Regions from separate parts of the Homo sapiens genome. Here region 1 is linked to region 2. The links are contacts of gene promoters, found by promoter capture Hi-C in human tissues and cell types (Jung and others, 2019). All regions are on one chromosome and are shown on one strand. Each heading gives the region's core, a stretch centred on a gene start or on the middle of the fragment in contact. The rest is flanking DNA. Distances are from core to core; before and after follow the strand shown.

Evidence for each region. The method cuts DNA at HindIII sites, captures the fragments that hold promoters and counts their contacts. A contact is called where the count stands out against the background at its distance.
Region 1: a contact is called between a fragment that was not itself captured here and the fragment with the promoter of GPX2 in region 2, in 2 of the 25 tissues and cell types used here (mesenchymal stem cells and pancreas).

The regions. Positions count from the first base shown.
Region 1 is chr14:64,787,490-64,794,249 of GRCh38, reverse strand. SPTB (spectrin beta, erythrocytic) reads left to right here. Exons shown (of 36, transcript NM_001355436.2): 14 at 383-1,253; 15 at 2,394-2,531. Among named protein-coding and RNA genes, the nearest start is that of MIR7855, 5.2 kb to the right of the region's middle. The HindIII fragment of the contact is 5,305 bases long and covers 1,631-6,760 here.
Region 2 is chr14:64,938,641-64,945,443 of GRCh38, reverse strand. GPX2 (glutathione peroxidase 2) reads left to right here and starts at 2,699. Exons shown (of 2, transcript NM_002083.4): 1 at 2,699-2,939; 2 at 5,606-6,286. The coding sequence starts at 2,718. The coding sequence ends at 5,956. All of the region lies in intron 3 of CHURC1-FNTB (CHURC1-FNTB readthrough), which reads right to left. The HindIII fragment of the contact is 8,107 bases long and covers 1-5,657 here.

The DNA of each region.
Region 1 (6,760 bases), core at 3,034-5,533, 150 kb after region 2:
TCCTTCATTCTCCTTGCTAGTTCAAGTTATGGCTGAGACAATTTAGGTTTCCAGATTCTTGTTTTAAATAAGAGACCTCACTGCATCTTTCAAGAATGACCTTGAAATTTTTTTAATTAATTTAAAAATAATTTTATGTTGTACATTTCTATTAAGAACTAACCCCACTTTTTATCTTCCTTAACCCTGAAGTTCAGTGGGAAATAATTATAAAGAATCTGTCCACCCTCTGAGCAACTGGGACCCCCCTGCATCCAACCCCAAAGCCCCAGTGACATGGCAGCTTCAGGGTTGTGTAGTTCCAACCTAGCAGCTTATCTGAAGCGTGCCCATAAATGAAGCCCATCCCCCACTTTGTCCTCCTTCCCCCTATTTCTTCCAGGGTACCAGCCTTGTGACCCCCAGGTCATCCAGGACCGCATCAGCCACTTGGAGCAGTGCTTTGAGGAGCTGAGCAACATGGCAGCTGGGCGGAAGGCCCAACTGGAGCAGTCCAAACGACTCTGGAAGTTCTTCTGGGAGATGGATGAGGCTGAGAGCTGGATCAAGGAGAAGGAGCAGATCTATTCTTCCCTGGACTATGGCAAAGACCTGACCAGTGTGCTCATCTTACAGCGCAAGCACAAGGCCTTTGAGGATGAGCTCCGTGGGCTGGATGCTCACCTGGAGCAGATCTTCCAGGAGGCTCATGGCATGGTTGCGCGCAAGCAGTTTGGGCACCCGCAGATCGAGGCCCGCATAAAGGAGGTGTCGGCACAGTGGGACCAGCTGAAGGACCTGGCTGCCTTCTGCAAGAAGAACCTCCAGGATGCTGAGAACTTTTTCCAGTTCCAGGGCGATGCGGATGACCTGAAGGCTTGGCTGCAAGACGCCCACCGGCTGCTCTCTGGTGAAGATGTGGGGCAGGACGAAGGGGCCACGCGGGCCCTGGGGAAAAAGCACAAGGACTTCCTGGAGGAGCTGGAGGAGAGCCGTGGGGTGATGGAGCACCTGGAGCAGCAGGCCCAGGGATTCCCCGAAGAGTTTCGGGATTCCCCAGATGTGACCCATCGGCTGCAGGCCCTGCGGGAGCTCTACCAACAGGTGGTGGCCCAGGCGGACCTGCGTCAGCAGAGGCTGCAGGAAGCCCTGGACCTGTACACGGTGTTCGGGGAGACAGACGCCTGTGAGCTGTGGATGGGAGAGAAGGAGAAGTGGCTGGCCGAGATGGAAATGCCAGACACCCTGGAGGACCTGGAGGTCGTGCAGCACAGGTCAGAGTTAACTCATCTTTTCCTCACGTCCCTGTACCCAGGCCTGGGCACCATCTCCCACCTAGTTTGGTAATAGTCTCTGGATCAGCAAAGGTCTCTTTGAGAGGCCCTGGGATGTCCTTTGTTGCAAAGTCCTGGCATTAGGAGTCATAAGTTCTATTCTGGCTCTGTGGCCTGGGGTACTTCACCCTTTGGGGCCTTGTGTTCCTCAAACAAAGGGAATTTATCTAGTCCAGTTATTCAATTACTTTTCAGCAATAGCAGTCTTTGCTCAGATGAATTGTGTATGGAACCCCCAGGTCACACAGAGGAAAAATGGAGCTACTCTGGAGAAGGAGGTTGAGAGGCCAGGACCCTGCCAGCTCTAGCTTTCTGTGGCAGTCCTTAAGCCAGGAGACTCTGAGGGGCCACAGAGAGAATTTGCAAACCCCCTGTCTGCAAGGCCACTCTCACCCCTGGTGTTCTGATTTTGTCAGCACCCCAGATGATGAGGCATGCCCCAGTCTGTGCAGCATCTCAGCAGCTGAAGCACAGAATTCAGGCAGTCAGGAGAAGGAGAGGCCGCTCTCTGGAACAGTGCCAAGGTGGTGCTGCACTGATGCTGGAGAGTCCTGGGCTCTTACCCTAGAAGGATCGGCCTTCAGAACCACAAATTCCCCCCGACCACCGCCCCAGCAGCTTTTCCTTATCTTACCCAGGAATGGAGCACCTGGCTGGAAAGGGTATCTTTTGGGTTAAGATGTCAAGGCATTGGACTCAGAGTCCAAAAGCAACAGCCGGAAAAGCAGAGGCCTGGAAGGTGGCCCTTGTGACAATTGACATCCCCCACACAAATACACAGTAACCTCTCTTCAGCCCTCCCTCCCCTTCATATGTCTCTCTTGAGCCAGAAGCCCGTGTAGGAAGTAACTGGCTCTCTCCCGGCCTGTTCCAGGCAATGCTAACTCATGAAATCAAACCCATGAACCAGAAAGGAGGGCCAGCATATCTGTTTTCTTCCTCCTGCCTCACCTGGGCAAATGGTTTAGGCAGTGGAAGGAGAAAGCAAGAGCTACATGTTCTGGAGACTGGGGGTGCCACTGGCAAGGAAATGTCTGCTGCCGCCTCACCCATCCTCATATTTTCCTTTGCCCATATCAGGTTCGACATCCTGGACCAGGAGATGAAGACCTTGATGACTCAGATTGATGGTGTGAACCTCGCTGCCAACAGCTTGGTAGAGAGTGGCCACCCACGCAGCAGGGAGGTGAAGCAGTACCAGGACCATCTGAACACCAGGTGGGGTGTGGGTAGGGCATGGGGCGGGGGCATTGTCTCTCAACATCTGACACACTGCTGGGGGCCGGGCCCAAAATTTAGTCCACCTAGTATGCACCAACACTTCTATACCCTCAACATTCCTGTCTTTTTTTTTTTTTTTTTTTTTTTTTTGACACAGAACCTCACTCTTTTACCCAGGCTGGAGTGCAGTGGTGCGATCTCGGCTCACTGCAACTTCCACCTCCTGGGTTCAAGCTATTCTTGTTCCTCAGCCTCCCAAGTAGCTGGGATTACAGGCGTGCGATACAATGCCTGGCTAGTTTTTGTATTTTTAGTAGAGATGTGGTTTCACCACGTTGGCCAGGCTGGTCTCATTCCTGGCCTCAAGCGATCTGCCCACCTCGGCCTCCCAAAGTGCTGGGATTACAGGCATAAGCCACCGCGCCCCCACCGACATTCCTGTCTGTCTCAGCCACAGTCCCCTTCCCAGTAGTACTGGAACTATAGCAGCAAGGAGGAATGATTGAGGTGGTGAACAGCCCAGGGAGGGAGAGAGACGAGTCCTGGGAGGCTCGAATGCTGTGCCTGGGGAGGGTGGGTGTGTATGTGTGATGGAGGGCACATCCCAAGTGTGCCCAAACTTAGAATCAGGCCATATGCTTCTCATGCTATATTTCCCTGGACATTCTTGGGCAGAGAAAATTGCTTTCTGAGAGCTCTTAAGTACTGTCCATAAAATAATGCTCCTGCCTCTGCCAAATGCAGTATCGATAATGAGGCTGGCTTGAAGGAAGAGGAGAATTAGCAGGGAGCCTTAAGCAAGCTTTGTGGCCAGAACAAAAAATAGGCCCCAAGGAGCCTTTAGAGAGGGGGTGCTTTCAGTGTGGGGTGAAATTGCCCATGAGTTCCTGGAGGATCTTTGAGGACACCGCAAATGCCTGCATTCCCTGTCTTTACCGTGGGCCCTGCACATGCAATGCCACATGTTCACCACCTCCCCATTACCCCAGCCCCTTCCCCACACCTGTGCCTGAGCGTTGCTCTGCCTGAGGCAATCTGGGAGGTGGGCCTAGGGAAGACTCCATTGTAAAGAAAGGGATCGGCACAGTGGAGAGTTCACTGGGGGGCTAAGGGGAGGCAGCGATGACCAGAATTCTTTAGAGCCACTAGAATGGGATGATTGTCTTAGCAGCCCAAGCTGCAGAGTGCGGTTTAGGAGATTCCTTTGTCAATCTGATGTTTTACAAAGGAAGAGAATACCTCTTCCCTCTTCTTTCGCCTTGTAGGTAATGAGTTTGTGTGTGTTGGTGGGCAGGAGGTGGTAGAGATTATTGCAATTGCTGCATAATTGAGGAAACTAGAGCAGGTCTAAACCAGAGAAACTTCCTGAGAGGAAGAACTCATCAGCTCAACAATAAACTATAGTCTGAGAATGTTGATCTTTACAGACCCCTAAAACAGGCCCCATCCCCAAGAGAAAAATATCAAGGTACCTGCCATCCTTAAGTGAGAAAAAAACCCGAGGCATGAAATTAAATTTGAGAGTTGAAAGGAACCTGAGAAGTCACCCAGTCTAGCCAGTGATGGGGAACTCACTCCCTCACCCGGCAGCCTATCTCATTTTTGGGCAATTCTTTTTGGTTAAAAAGTTTGCTCTTCCATTGAGTGGAAATCTGCCTCCTTGAAATGCGTACATATTGATTCTGGCTCTGCCCTTGAGAGATATCACACTTACCCTGGTTCCTCTTCCGTGTATAGCTCTTCAATTATTTTTCAGAACAATGCTCATTCTATACCTCCACCCCCAGTGTCGCCTCATGCCTCTGCGGTTCTTTCCCTCAGGGTGCATTCTCCCTCCCTCTACATATTCCAAATCCTGTCTCTGCATGAGCCAGTCCAAGTCGCTTGCTTTCCAGTTTTCCAGATGAAAAGCAATCTTTTCCTCCTTTGTACTGGTTTTGAGCTTCATATCCTATCTTACATTCTAATTATTTTTGTCCCCAAGGACTTTCCTGCTAGACTATGTAAACAAATGAAGACCTGTATCTATTTATATTGCCCAAGGGCTTTGCACACCTAATACATTTTTGGGGTTCCTGCTGTTTAGAGTATTATTTTCCTAGCTATGCCCTTGGCTTACTCTTTTTATTCAGGTCTCAGCTCAAATGTCAGCTTACTGGCATGGCCCCCGCTGACCGCCCCATGGAAAGCAGCACATCCTTCCTCTCACTGACCCACTTGGCCTCTATATTGTTACCTTCTTTTATTTTTTCTTTGCGCTTATCACCACTTGATGGATTATAGACTTGTTTATGTCTCTATCCACTTGAATGAAAGCAAGGACTTTGCATTACTCTTTATTAATTAATTAATTAATTTTTTATAGAGACAGAATCTCACTCCATTACCCAGGCTGGAGTGCAGTGGTACAATTTTGGCTCACTGCAGCCTCAGCCTCCCAGGCTCAAGTGATTCTCCCATCTCAGTCTCCTGTGTAGCTAATGCTACAGATGCACACTACTATACCCAGCTAATTTTTTGTTTTTTTTGTAGAGATGAGGTCTCACTATGTTTCTCAGGCTGGTCTTGAACTCCTGGGCTCAAGAGATCCTCCGGCCTCAGCCTCCCAAATTGCTGTGATTTACAGGTGTGAGCCACTGAGCCCAGCCTGCATAGTTCTTTGTCATATCCCTAGTGCCTAGGTCAGTGTCTGCCACAAGGCAACTGAGAGTTGCTTGATAAATGCTTAGTACATGAGTGAACTGGGAAAAAACTAAGGTTTTTCTGCCAAGCTTATGTGTGAGTCATTCAAACACTTGATGAATGTGTGATCATCTTTCACCGTATGCTTTCCAGTTGAAGAAAAACCTGGCCCAGGACCAAACCTAGACTCTTGATGTTGCCTGACCAGTGATAACTAGAGTGGCTCTATCAACCTCCTCCATCTCAAAGACAGTGCAGTGGAGGGGGCAAGTGTAGGTTTGGGAAGCAGACTAGACCCAAGCTCCAGTGCATCTTGGTGTGGCCTCCACCCAATGGCTACAGTGAGGCCACTCCAGGAAAGGCCTGGAAAATCACTATGGGGCCTCTTGCCTGGGGACACAGCCAGACCCTCTCCCAGGAACACTTCCCTGTCGATTCCAGGGCTTTCAAACAAACTTGGAGAAAACCCCTTGATTTCCTAGCCTCAGAGCACCATCTGTGTGCCAGACAGGCACGGAATTCCCAGAGCACGGGGTCTTCATGGTCTAGGATGGGAGCCGAGAAATCTGCAGGCTCTCTCTCCTCTCTCGTATCCCTGGTCTCTCCCAGCCTGTCTCTTATATCTCTCTGCAGACCTTTCAAATCATACTGGCTGCTGTTGTCACACCTTGGGAATGCACAACAGCGCTCTCTGTCCAGTCCATCTCCTAGTCCCTCAGCCTCCATCCCCTGAGGCAGGGTACAAAGATGAATGAGACACTTGGTCCCATCCTTTAATTGGTCACTCCAGTGGAGGCACTGGGGGTGTGTTCACTGACTGGGGCTTTGTGTCCAGTGATGGGTTGTGTGGAGGTCACGTGAGCAACTGTCACCCCATTGCTCCTTCCAGCTGCCTTAATCCTCCTCTCTGCCTGTTAGGTGCTGTGCACATGAAACTTTATGCTATGTTATTTGTGAGCTTGTCTGAATATTTCTCTAAATCATACACCCCACAGGGCATGGTCTGGTTATGTCTATATTCTCCCAAAGGCCAATAAAATGGCTTATACCCCTGTGGGTGTTCGAGAAAGATGGGTTCGATTAGAGAATGAGCATTCAGCCTGCATATTACAGTGATGCAGAATGAGTGAACCTAGGCCCAAGGGCAGTGTCCCTAGTGGTCTGGCCTGGCTGATGGGCAGCTCTTTGAAAGAGGCTTATCGTGTACTGCAGACTGACCCCAGGCCCCCAGGCATCCGCCAGACCTTAGCACATTTCCGTATTTCATAGCAACACTGCACTCGAAGGTTAAGATTATGCTAGTCACTTAAATTATCATCACAACTTATTCCTCCCCATTCTCTTCTTCCCTGTCCTCTTCTTCCTCTTCTTTTTCACCAGGGCATCTTTTCTCTTAGATCCAAGGTGATCTCTTTCAGGCCCTAGGAGACGTTGCATGTGGCCTTGGGCATTTACTTGGTTCCTCTAGGGCAGCTGGGGACCCTATGTCCTGAAGCATTCTTGAAGTTAATGTGAGCCTTTTAATTATTTTGATATTTCATAAA
Region 2 (6,803 bases), core at 1,450-3,949:
TTTGTGATTGGATACCTCGGGGGAGCAGAGGCAGACTGGGATCTCAGGACTGCAGGTATTTCATACTTTGGGATATGGAATTGATGGAGGTGGAGAATATTGGGGATAAGGACTGAATGAAGAAAGGAGTAGGACAACGCAGGACAACAGTAGTCTTAAGATTTTCACTACACTTTACCCGGCACTAGTGATAGATAAACTCTTCTGACCCTAACCATCACCGTGTGAGATGGGGAGGGTGGTTATCTACCCAGGTCCCACAGGCAAGGAAACAGATGATCAGAGAACTTAAAGATTTGGCCGGGTGCAGTGGCTCATGCCTGTAATCCCAACTCTGGGAGGCCGAGGCAGGAGGACTGCTTGAGCCCAAGAGTTTGGGACCAGCCTGGGCAACATAGTGAGACACTGTCTCTAGAAAAAATTAGCTGAGTGTGGTGGCTTGTGAGGCTGAGGCCAGTGGATCACTTGAGCCCAGAAGGTCAAGGCTGCAGTTGCACCATTGCACTCCTGCCTGGGTGACAGAGAAAGACCCTGTCTCAATAAAAAGAGCTTAAAGATTTGCCTAAGGGTCCGAAGTAACAGTGGCAGAATTGTGGTTGTAAACCACTGAATTGGAATCACTGGAGGGCAAAGCTTTGGCATCTCTAGAAAAATTCCTACAAACAATTCTCATTTGCAGTCAGAATTAAGAACCACCAACCCAGGCTTTCTGCCTAAGCCAGTGCTGTGTCCAGAGCAAGCACTGTCCCACAGAAAGCCATAAGAATCATACGCTGCTTAGTGTATGCTTAAAGTTGTAAGCTTTTGGAAAGCGAGGCCAGTTTGAGGTAAATTTGGAGACAGAGATATTTTAGGAGAGCCTCACCAAGTATATTCCATTAGGAAAGGTGAGAACCCTGGGAGTCTGAAGGGTCCAAGGTCACACCAGGAGAAAAGGGATGGCATGTACCTAAGGAAGAGGGAACCCCCACACTCCTCATCTTGGGAACTCCCATGGCCTTCTTGAAGAAGGCTTGCAAAAGAGCAGAGAATAAGAGGTGTCTCTGGAGGCCCAGAGAGTACTAGGGGGAAGCTCTAGGTATGCACATAAATCCGGCAAGTTACAGTTCTGCCCACTATCAGTGCCAAGTCCTTGTGACTCAGTGGCTTGGTGGGGACTCTTTCTTATTGGTTGCTTCTAGGAACTCCACCCAGCTTCAGCAGGGGACACACTTCCCTCTACACTTCCTGTCACTCCTTCTGTCCACTTAGGTAATGGAAACTTGTTTTTAGGGAGCAGCCAGCTGAGACACATGGTCCCTGTATACTTGAACAGCCATGGAAAAGCTGCAAGGCAGCTTGGCGCTCCCTGGTGATAATTACTTCATCTCATCTCAACAAATCAGATTCTCAAGACCAGCTGCTCCCCGGACTTGCTTATTCTTTGTTCCAAGGAGACAGTTCCCAATGGATGTGCCCCTGTGAAAACACCCTAGTAAACATTTGCTTTGTTATTGAAATTTCACTCTAAAATCCCAAAGCTAGGTCAAGCCCCATTGCTAGTTTTACTGATGAAGAAATCAAGGCATTTTTAAAAGAGTAACTTGTTGAGTTGGCGGGTGCTTGGGTCTTTTCGGTTTCTGTGGCTTCCAGGGGTGGGCCTCTGAGATGGCCCTTAGCAGATGTCCTGCGATGCACTGCACGCCTCTTGTTGAAAGCATCAGGGGTGACCTGCCTGCGTCTGGAACCACAGCAGCTTCAACTTCCTCCACACACTTCCTTCTGTGGGAAGGTGACCAGCACAAACCCGCTCTGAAAAGTCTTGGGGACCAAATCTCTGTCTGAGAGGAAGGTAGGTGCAGTTCATCCACTAAGTTTATCCACCTGTTCTGTGACTCCTCTTCACCATTCTCCCAGCAACGACTGAGCCTCATGACTTGGGGGCTGGGGGATGAGGTGGAGGTGGGGGATATAATATAGGAGATGGTACAGTGCAGGGGCAGAGGCTGGTGTGTTCTCCAGGACAAGTGGCACCACGCACTGAAAGACTTTTCAAGATAAACACAACTTTGTCTCTTCAGCCTGGCAAGAGCTGAGGCACTGAAAACTTCTTTTTTCCCCTAGAAAATGACACACTCTCCTCCTAAGGGTCCCTTTGATTTTGTCCTGGTGGAAAGCAACAAAGAGAAGAACGTGAACAGGAATATGTATATTTCAGTTGTCATCTGAGTCCCATGGATAGGAGGCTCAATTCTCTTCTTCATCTTTCAGATCTCCGCAGACCCTGCCCTCTCACTGTACAATTCAGAGATTGACACTCAGCAGGCATTCAATAAACGTCTGTGTCAAATGAGAACAACTTGATGGGGCAAGTAGGAGTCAATCCTGCATCCCTCCCTCCCTTTTTTTCCTCTCCATTCGACCTTTAGGGCTCTGGTTTCCTGTAAGCAGTGAATTATTTACCTCTGCTCATAGATATCAAATTGGCCCTTCCCAGGTTGCAGCAGGGTGGGGCGGGGAGGCGGCCTTGTTCAGTCTGTTAATAGGAGGAGCAACCTCCTTGTTCAAACAGCACTTACAGGTGGGGACCTGTTTTTGCTAAGTCATCCTGGGGATGCTCAAAGCTCCATTGTTAGATCCTTTCTGTCCTCCTTCCTGGCTCCTCCTTCCTCCCCACCCCTCTAATAGGCTCATAAGTGGGCTCAGGCCTCTCTGCGGGGCTCACTCTGCGCTTCACCATGGCTTTCATTGCCAAGTCCTTCTATGACCTCAGTGCCATCAGCCTGGATGGGGAGAAGGTAGATTTCAATACGTTCCGGGGCAGGGCCGTGCTGATTGAGAATGTGGCTTCGCTCTGAGGCACAACCACCCGGGACTTCACCCAGCTCAACGAGCTGCAATGCCGCTTTCCCAGGCGCCTGGTGGTCCTTGGCTTCCCTTGCAACCAATTTGGACATCAGGTGAGGGGTCCCTCCTTGTAATGCACCAAAAGTGTTGGGTTGGTGTAGCTCAGGTGGGATAAAAGGAGAGGCTGAATGACCATGTTTTGGAGTGTCTGGAATAATGGGGTATGTTTTGTTAAGCTAGGTCTTTAGGTGCATGTGACATACCAAGAGAAGGTATATATTTTTTAAGATTAAACACTGAGGCTGTGTGATTTTTATAGTTTACTGTCTTTCTACTATATTACTCCATGAGGGCTGGTTCCAGGTCTGTGTTTCTCTCCACTGTGTCCTCAGTGCCTAGGGCACAGAAAGCACTCATTAAATATTTGTTGAATAAATGAGTGGAGAAAGTAGAGGCCAGGAATCAAACAAGAATTGGACAGACTCAAGAGACCTTAGCTCTAGCTGGACTTGGTTTTGCTATTTAATGGCTCTGTGCCCTCGGAAAGGGCGCTTCATTTTTCGGTTTAGTTTCCTCATCTGTAAATTGGGGATAATACCACTTAGCTCATAGGATTATTATGATGTTTAGGGGACAGGATATACAAAAGTAACTTGAAAAATATAAAGTACTATGCAAATGCAAGCAAACTGTTATTTAGATTGAGGATGATTTTTGTTGGTTTAAATTAGCCAAGTGGAAAGAAAATAAGCAGGAAAGAGAAAGGTTTTCAAAAGGCACGTGCCTCTGGGCATTACATGCACCTATTTCTGATTAATGGGTCAAGCTGTTATAGATCTTCAGCCCACACACCTCGAGTTCTCTTTTAGGGATTCTTCTATTTCCACCTATGATTTTAACGTACAAGCAGGGAGAATGAACCCAAGCGAACCCTCTCGTTATAATCCCCTTAGTTCAATTCACAGTGGTATGAAGGTGAGGAAGACAGGAAAGCAGGAAGGCTGAAGCATCACTGGCTGTGACAAACCTGAGCCCAAACTGTTCACTGCTCTCACTGTTCTTCCCTAAGTTTTCTGTCTGGCCTTTTCTAGAGCAGGAGAGACAGAAGTAGCAAACCCTCTTTCGAGATGTCCCTCCAGCCCCAGAAGTACCTCCAGCCTCACACCATCTCTTCAGCCTAGCAAGTTGCTGGAGGGAGTCTATAACCTACCAGGAGCCAGCCAGCCATTTGTATCAAGAAATAGAAATCTGCCAGGGTACAGTGGCTCACACCTATAATCCCAGCGCTTTGGGAGGCTAAGGTAGGCAGATTGCTTGAGCTCAGGAGTTCAAGATTAGCCTGAGCAACATGGTGAAACCTTGTTTCTACAAAAAATTGCAAAAATTAGCCAGGCATGGTGGCATGTGCCTGTAGTCACAGCTACTTGGGACGCTGAAGTAGCAGGATCGCCTGAGCCTGGGAAGTCGAGGCTGCAGTGAGCTATGATTGTGCCACCGCACCCCAGCCTAGGTGACAGAGTGAGGCCCTGTCTCAGGAAAAAAAACAGAAACAAAAACAGAGAAGTCCACTAGAGATCAGCTCTGGGCTCATGATGTCATGATGGCCTGGAACTGACTGAACTAGTTAGTTCTCACAGGTCAGAAGCAGGAACTTTCTCCCAGAGGAAGGTATCTGTCTGTTAAATTGGAAAGGTAGAGGTGGAAAAGAAGGGTTCCCATAGGCCTTTTGGATTGTCATGAATGGTGATGCTGAGAGGGAATAGGACAGGGATGGCAGTGGGGAGGGAAAGGCAGGGACCAGGTTTTGAGCCAAAGCATGCGTAGCTGAGAGCAGTGAGTGGATAGGAGGTGCAGCAGTCTTTGGGTAGCAGCCTACTCAAGAAAAGAATGATAATTACATACTCACAATCTTTAGCCATCAAGCACTTATTTCCTCAACTCCCCCTCCCCCTGGCCTATTGCCAAACCCTAAATCCTGTATCCTATTTACTTCATGCCTGTTGGTTACTAAGTAGTTCCATTTAGAGTACACATTCATTGTTGCCTTGAACTTGCTCTGCTGTTATGGCACCTGAAAACTAGATGTTCTTGGATGGGGGTCTTCCTTCATCAAAGCTTCTTCCCATTTGTACTTCAGTTCTAGGACAAGGCAAGAAGAAAGCAAGAAGCTGTAAATCCCATTCCTCTGGGTCTCAATTTCACCCTCAGTTCAAGGAGCTGAGTAGGCAGAGGCAAAGGCTATACTCAACACACGTGCAATTGAAAGCAGGCGAGGCAAAACCAGGGCAGAGGAAAGGAAAGGGGTGTGTGTGTAGGTATGGATTTATGGGTAGGTGGGTCGGTAGGTTAGTTGAAGAGGAGGTTCTAAGCAGTATAACCTAAGCCTCTTTTCTCTTTCTTCTGCTTCAAACACCTTAAGAACTGCTCAGGGTAGACTGGAGACAAAAGCAACAGCTCAGAAGTGCTAAATCTTGAAGAGCAGCCAAAGCATGGGCAACAAAGTGAGACCCCATCTCTACAAAAAAAAAAAAAAATTAGCCGGGCATGGTGGCCTGTGTCTGTAGTCTCAGCTACTAAAGAGGCTGAAGCAGGAGGAATGCTTGAGCCCAGAAGTTCAAGGCTGCAGTGAGCAACACCTCGTCTGTCTTGTCTCTCTCTCTTTCACAGTGAAAAAGAATGACCCTGGGGAGGGAGTGTAGGAGGGTGAAAGAGTTTCATGTTGTGGATCTTTCTCTTCCCCCACCCACTGTCCACGCACTTTGTCTTTTTCCTCCCCTAGGAGAACTGTCAGAATGAGGAGATCCTGAACAGTCTCAAGTATGTCCGTCCTGGGGGTGGATACCAGCCCACCTTCACCCTTGTCCAAAAATGTGAGGTGAATGGGCAGAACGAGCATCCTGTCTTCGCCTACCTGAAGGACAAGCTCCCCTACCCTTATGATGACCCATTTTCCCTCATGACCGATCCCAAGCTCATCATTTGGAGCCCTGTGCGCCGCTCAGATGTGGCCTGGAACTTTGAGAAGTTCCTCATAGGGCCGGAGGGAGAGCCCTTCCGACGCTACAGCCGCACCTTCCCAACCATCAACATTGAGCCTGACATCAAGCGCCTCCTTAAAGTTGCCATATAGATGTGAACTGCTCAACACACAGATCTCCTACTCCATCCAGTCCTGAGGAGCCTTAGGATGCAGCATGCCTTCAGGAGACACTGCTGGACCTCAGCATTCCCTTGATATCAGTCCCCTTCACTGCAGAGCCTTGCCTTTCCCCTCTGCCTGTTTCCTTTTCCTCTCCCAACCCTCTGGTTGGTGATTCAACTTGGGCTCCAAGACTTGGGTAAGCTCTGGGCCTTCACAGAATGATGGCACCTTCCTAAACCCTCATGGGTGGTGTCTGAGAGGCGTGAAGGGCCTGGAGCCACTCTGCTAGAAGAGACCAATAAAGGGCAGGTGTGGAAACGGCCAGCCTGTGTGTGTGTTCTTTGACAGAGGGCGGAGGGAAGCTACAAACTGCAGGTGGGATAGAGGAGCTGCTAGCACACAAAGCTTTGGGAGGGGAGGATCTGACGGATCAAGGGATGCCCTAATTACTGACAGGAAAGCAAGCGCTGGCCAAGGTCTGCAGTGGCAGGTGCAGTTACGGGAAATGTGAATTATATTATTCCTTTACAGCTCTTCTTCAGAACTGGGGAAAAAGAGAAAGTGATAATGGGAGGTAGAGGAGGAAAAGACAATGAGCCCTTTGGTTGGGGATATTGGGAGGCTGTTAGGAGGATTACAGTCAGGAAGCATCAATAGCACTGTGGGTACTGGGCCAACTAGATCTGACTTGTGCCTTGGGAAATTCCTGGGCAGTCAGCTTAGTTAATGTTTACCAATAGCAAGGGCATAGAGGGTGTAGTTACTGAGAACACAAACAGCACTTTATCTTTTTCCTGATCATCAAACATCTCGGGTGTTTGATCCTTTGCTAGAC